Linked DNA regions of Homo sapiens: region 2 is linked to region 1. Evidence: promoter capture Hi-C in human tissues and cell types (Jung and others, 2019). All regions are on one chromosome and are shown on one strand. The core of a region is centred on a gene start or on the middle of the fragment in contact, and the rest is flanking DNA. Distances in the headings are between cores, read along the strand shown. Region 1 holds the start of IRS1 (insulin receptor substrate 1). Region 2 has its middle 410 kb from the start of MIR5702.

Region 1 (3,357 bases), core at 204-2,703:
CTCCCCGGGAAACTCGCTCCGCCCCTCAGCCGCATTGGGCCGAGGCGCGCTCCCCCGCGGCCCGCCGGGTCCCAGCCACTGAGCATGCCCAGCGCCTCGACTGCTGAGTGCCCAGCCAGCATCCTGCAGTGCCTGGGAGCCTGAGGCCGAGGAGGGTCCCGGCGTAGTAAAGGGGCGGCAACCCCAAACGGGCCAGGCATCAAAATGAGACAGCATTAAACCGAGTGACATCTCTGTGGGTCCTTAGTGCCAGGCGAGCAAGCAGGGACAAACTGCTTGTTTATAGGTCGGCTTAAAAAATAAAAAAACTCTGGGGAGCGTTTGTTTGTGGGGAGACTGATACCGCAAGGTGACCCTGAAAGGGGCGCTTCAAGTAGACCCAGGCTGCTGATCTGGTCCACTCATGAAGTAACCATTTTCCTGTACAGTTGAGCTGGCACCATCCTTGTTTTCTCCCTGTTATCCTTGTGGTCAAGGTTAAAAACTTATAGGGTGGTTCAATGGGTGTGGGAGCTGTGTGTGAAACAAACATTTCAGCCAATATTTGCACAGTAGGGTTTTGGCCTTATGAACCCTCTGAAGGTCCCTAACAGCTTTTTAAAGTCACGGATAGACTTCGGAATATGATAAGGGACCTCTCATTTCCCCTCCCCCATGCCCTCAGCCTTAGGTGTGAGTCCCCCCGTCACACGGATGGGCAAGGGGAGCAGGAGAAAAGGTGATATTTACATTTTCTCCCTACTTGATCAGCAACTAATTCCACAGCGCCGGACGTGAGACACTTCCTGGGGATCCCTGTTCTCCTTTTGTAGTGACCATAACTGCCCCCAGTCACTGCCCTTGGGCGTCCCTCTGTTCCTTCCAGGTACCTCACGGCAGCAAATCTGGGGATCCCAAGGTGGAAGGCTGGCCCAGAAGTCCTTTAGAAAAACCTTAAAAAATACAGATCCCCTCACCATGGCCTATCGCCCTGAAGCCGAAATCTAGCTTTTAAATTTCCTGGGGGAAACAGCCTTGACTAGAAACCTCCCTCCCGTGGGTCAGTCTTACCTGATAGGTAAGAGGCAGCCCAGCTCCGGCGCCCCCGCCTCCCCCCGGCCTCCCACTCGGGGCTCTGTAGCCGCAGTGCCCCCCCGTGGCCCCCCACCCTCACTCCTGCGTCTTCCCGAGCTCGCCCCCTCCCGTTTTCCCAGACTCCCCTCGTGCTTTCGGGTAGCCACCCAAACACCCCCGCCTGCGCCCGCCGCGGGGATTCCTGCGGGCCGGGGGCGCCCCGGTTGGCGCGCGTGTAGGGAGGCGCTGCGCCGGAGCTGGCGGCCGCGCAGGGGCGCTGTCCTAGCGCTGCGCCGGGGTCGGCGCGGGCGCCGCTGCAGCACGGCTGGGGGGCGGAGAGGGGCGGGCGCGGGGCGGGCTCGGCCCGGAATGTAGAGACCCGGGCGGGAGCCTCCCGGCGGCGGCTGCCCGGCTGCCGAGCGCGGAGGCTCCGTCACGTGTTTTTCTCCTCCGAGTGAGACGGCGGCGCGGTCGGAGGGGGCCGGCGCGCAGAGCCAGACGCCGCCGCTTGTTTTGGTTGGGGCTCTCGGCAACTCTCCGAGGAGGAGGAGGAGGAGGGAGGAGGGGAGAAGTAACTGCAGCGGCAGCGCCTCCCGAGGAACAGGCGTCTTCCCCGAACCCTTCCCAAACCTCCCCCATCCCCTCTCGCCCTTGTCCCCTCCCCTCCTCCCCAGCCGCCTGGAGCGAGGGGCAGGGATGAGTCTGTCCCTCCGGCCGGTCCCCAGCTGCAGTGGCTGCCCGGTATCGTTTCGCATGGAAAAGCCACTTTCTCCACCCGCCGAGATGGGCCCGGATGGGGGCTGCAGAGGACGCGCCCGCGGGCGGCGGCAGCAGCAGCAGCAGCAGCAGCAGCAACAGCAACAGCCGCAGCGCCGCGGTCTCTGCGACTGAGCTGGTATTTGGGCGGCTGGTGGCGGCTGGGACGGTTGGGGGGTGGGAGGAGGCGAAGGAGGAGGGAGAACCCCGTGCAACGTTGGGACTTGGCAACCCGCCTCCCCCTGCCCAAGGATATTTAATTTGCCTCGGGAATCGCTGCTTCCAGAGGGGAACTCAGGAGGGAAGGCGCGCGCGCGCGCGCGCTCCTGGAGGGGCACCGCAGGGACCCCCGACTGTCGCCTCCCTGTGCCGGACTCCAGCCGGGGCGACGAGAGATGCATCTTCGCTCCTTCCTGGTGGCGGCGGCGGCTGAGAGGAGACTTGGCTCTCGGAGGATCGGGGCTGCCCTCACCCCGGACGCACTGCCTCCCCGCCGGGCGTGAAGCGCCCGAAAACTCCGGTCGGGCTCTCTCCTGGGCTCAGCAGCTGCGTCCTCCTTCAGCTGCCCCTCCCCGGCGCGGGGGGCGGCGTGGATTTCAGAGTCGGGGTTTCTGCTGCCTCCAGCCCTGTTTGCATGTGCCGGGCCGCGGCGAGGAGCCTCCGCCCCCCACCCGGTTGTTTTTCGGAGCCTCCCTCTGCTCAGCGTTGGTGGTGGCGGTGGCAGCATGGCGAGCCCTCCGGAGAGCGATGGCTTCTCGGACGTGCGCAAGGTGGGCTACCTGCGCAAACCCAAGAGCATGCACAAACGCTTCTTCGTACTGCGCGCGGCCAGCGAGGCTGGGGGCCCGGCGCGCCTCGAGTACTACGAGAACGAGAAGAAGTGGCGGCACAAGTCGAGCGCCCCCAAACGCTCGATCCCCCTTGAGAGCTGCTTCAACATCAACAAGCGGGCTGACTCCAAGAACAAGCACCTGGTGGCTCTCTACACCCGGGACGAGCACTTTGCCATCGCGGCGGACAGCGAGGCCGAGCAAGACAGCTGGTACCAGGCTCTCCTACAGCTGCACAACCGTGCTAAGGGCCACCACGACGGAGCTGCGGCCCTCGGGGCGGGAGGTGGTGGGGGCAGCTGCAGCGGCAGCTCCGGCCTTGGTGAGGCTGGGGAGGACTTGAGCTACGGTGACGTGCCCCCAGGACCCGCATTCAAAGAGGTCTGGCAAGTGATCCTGAAGCCCAAGGGCCTGGGTCAGACAAAGAACCTGATTGGTATCTACCGCCTTTGCCTGACCAGCAAGACCATCAGCTTCGTGAAGCTGAACTCGGAGGCAGCGGCCGTGGTGCTGCAGCTGATGAACATCAGGCGCTGTGGCCACTCGGAAAACTTCTTCTTCATCGAGGTGGGCCGTTCTGCCGTGACGGGGCCCGGGGAGTTCTGGATGCAGGTGGATGACTCTGTGGTGGCCCAGAACATGCACGAGACCATCCTGGAGGCCATGCGGGCCATGAGTGATGAGTTCCGCCCTCGCAGCAAGAGCCAGTCCTCGTCCA
Region 2 (3,122 bases), core at 607-3,106, 550 kb after region 1:
TTCTTTCTTTCTTTCTTTCTTTCTTTCTTTCTTTTTCTTTCTTTCTTTCTTTCGTTCTTTCTTTCTTTCGTTCTTTCTTTCTTTCTCAAGATGGAGTTAAAAGTTGGGTGTACCCATCCTTCATTCTCTGCTGACAGCCCTGGTACCCCTGGCTTAGCAAATGCAGTGAATACATTCTCCATGGCAGTTTGGCAGATGCCTCAACCGTGACATTTGCCTTTTATAGATTAAGAAAAGAAGGTGTCCCCTTATGAGCTGCCTGTGCTAAATCCCCTGACACATTTATTTTCGATTTATTGCATATTAGATTTCAGGTTTTTAATTTGCATGTTTCTGGCAAAGTGTCAGAAGGTTGTGTCTTAGCACGTGTCTAGAGTTGTATGTACATAAAACACAGGCAAATTCAATAGGTAAAGCTCAAAGAAGGAAACAAAGGGCACGTCTAATTGTTTAACCCAAATCATTTCGCTTTTTCTGCTGGATGTGTCAGAATATAAAGTGGCATCATTTAAAAAATACTCTAGATTATTTCTGAGGTTGTCCATTGATATTTTTGTTTCTTTACACCTAAATTAAAAGCAATGTCTGACTTTTAACAGCACATTTTTTAACAAAAAATACATAACACATACAAAATAGAAGCTTGTTTTATAATTCAGATCAGTTTTCAGATTGTGTTATGATGAATACAACCAGAAAATTATGAATAAATTCCTTCTAACAGGGCCTTCATTAAAACTGCTCGTAAAGCAGGATCTTTCCTCTTTACTATTCAGTTCACAAACACTGTTTTTAGACAATAAAAACCATACAATATAATTATGTACTTTGTCTGAAATATTTTATTAATTAAATAATAGGTTTAGATGACTGAATTCTAGCAAACCTCTGCCACTTGTAACCCAACAATCTGTGTCAGGCATGCATAGCCCCTCAGAGGCTCAGGTTTCCTCAACTGGAAAAGGGCATAATAATAACTAAGTTAAAAGCTGGCTTGTGGACTTGTTAAGGGAATTGAATAAGAAAATGTATGTGGAACTGGTTGGTAAATTCTATAGCACTACAAAAAGTACATCCATATGGTAACATAAAAATTAACTAGCACATATTGTAATATAATAATAGACCATAATACCGTATAATCTCATAAACTTAGAGAGTAGCCAGGACTTATAAACATGCTTGTGATTTCAAATACTATCTCCATATATGTCTAAAAATATATTGGCATGTAGTTGTCCAACAGGTTTGTTCTTCAAGAATATTTCTGGATCATTTGTAATTAACATGGATTTTAATTACTATAGTTGCTTGAGTATACTTATAGTTTCAATTTTTAATTTTGTATTTTGAAATGGCTTTTGCCAGAGTAGCCTTGTTCAATTGGGCTATATAAACATGTAATTATTTATACCAACTCACGTTAGGTTCATAGTTTAAAGACTGCCAATTTTCCACTGTTGTAATTATAGCCATAACAGATCTTAAGTTGTTTGAACTAAACAGTTCACTGTCTTTTAAAATTTGCCTTGTAAGTTATATGTTCATTACATTTTTAAAGGTAAAATTACTATACACACACATCCGTACACACACATATAAATTGTGTATGAGACATGCAATTCTTAAAAAGTTGGTAATTCTGACATTTAATATATGTTTCAGAAACAGTAAATACAACTTTAATTTCAAAATGTTCTTCAGATTTTAAAATAACTTTAATTTCCTTGGATATGAGTACTCTGTAATTAAGTAATCCCTGTTATACAGAAAAAAAGTGTTAGATGTAAATACATAATTCTGCCACCGCAGCTAACAGAAATGTTATCATTAAGTGTTTTCTACATTCTTGAAGAAGTGAGTAAATATTTCGAAGTCTGTCTTTTTTCTTTTTTAATGAAAGAAGCATTAGTCATATTGAATATCCAGTTCTAGCCAGGAAACAGGAAAACACAGAAGACATATTATCAAATACTTCTTGAGGGCAAACTTCTGTTTGTCAACCTTGGCTGCTATGAATGACATTATTAACTAGGGTTCACTATCATAATGCATTTCTTGTAGTTCTCACAGCTCTTAATTCTCTGAGTTGAAATAAATGCTCTTTGCAATAGTATGATTCCCAAGTTGGCCTCTGGTTTTGTAAGTAATTTTTTAATAGATATTTTTCACTTATTCATTCTGTTTGCTTATAGGGCACAGCTAATTTACGATTGTTCTGATCTAGTTCTGAACCTGGTATGTTGCCTACTACTGAATCATCAAACATAATTCACATATCTATGTCTAGGTAAACACAGCACCCACTGTATTTAGAGTAATGTTTTCACCAGAAGTTCCTGCAAAACTTTATATATAGCAATATGGGATGTTGGCATAAACAGACTTTTCAGGATAGATCAAAGAAGTTTGTGTGTGAGCAAGGAAAGGTTGACATGAAGCATCTCATAGCCAAATACATATGCTAGATTCACTTTCAACCCAAGCCACCTTCAGAATGTGCCAGATTTGGATAAAATTGCCTTTTTTTCCTCTCCAGAGCTTGGCTTCACTTATTCATCTCAAATTTTTCTCAGAACAACTCAACTAAAAACCCCCTAAACAAAATTTATGAGACTCCATAATCACCCTGTGGACAAACCTAATATAGCAGTTTTTCTGAAAACTACTAACCAAAAGGTGAGGAAATGTACCAGAAAAACACTTGTCCATCTGTATGTTTTCCAACATCTCCTAAATGACTTATCTTGATTGTGTATGCTGAATCTTTTGGGAGTACACATAAAAAAATTGACATATATGTAAATGATTTGCAGGCAGAGATGATATTTGTATTTAAATTTGAGCTAATTGTATTCTATCATTTTATTGCCTTACACTCATAAAAGATTACATTTAATTTCTTAAATTCAGATGATTTCAGACTTTGTTCCTGTAAGTAATATTATTTTATTTGAATTGCAAATAGTCACATAATCTCATTTTTAAATTTCAAGCCTGGGGACCCAAAGATTCTCTGAAAATCCAAACAGACATTTAATATGAAGAATGTTTACAGACTTACTAAATCAAATGTTTTTTGGTTACTAAATTTTTTGACAGTGCAAAAAGTTTTTAAGAAA

The links. The method cuts DNA at HindIII sites, captures the fragments that hold promoters and counts their contacts. A contact is called where the count stands out against the background at its distance.
Region 2: a fragment that was not itself captured here is called in contact with the fragment with the promoter of IRS1 in region 1 in 1 of the 25 tissues and cell types used here (heart left ventricle).

Annotation. Positions count from the first base shown.
Region 1 is chr2:226,797,916-226,801,272 of GRCh38, reverse strand. IRS1 (insulin receptor substrate 1) reads left to right here and starts at 1,453. Exons shown (of 2, transcript NM_005544.3): 1 at 1,453-3,357. The coding sequence starts at 2,535. It also overlaps a transcript of RHBDD1 not described here. RefSeq lists silencers at 1-124, 1,085-1,154, 1,175-1,594, 2,585-2,634. The HindIII fragment of the contact is 12,102 bases long and covers 1-3,357 here.
Region 2 is chr2:226,246,951-226,250,072 of GRCh38, reverse strand. No RefSeq gene overlaps it. Among named protein-coding and RNA genes, the nearest start is that of MIR5702, 410 kb to the left of the region's middle. The HindIII fragment of the contact is 5,391 bases long and covers 1-3,122 here.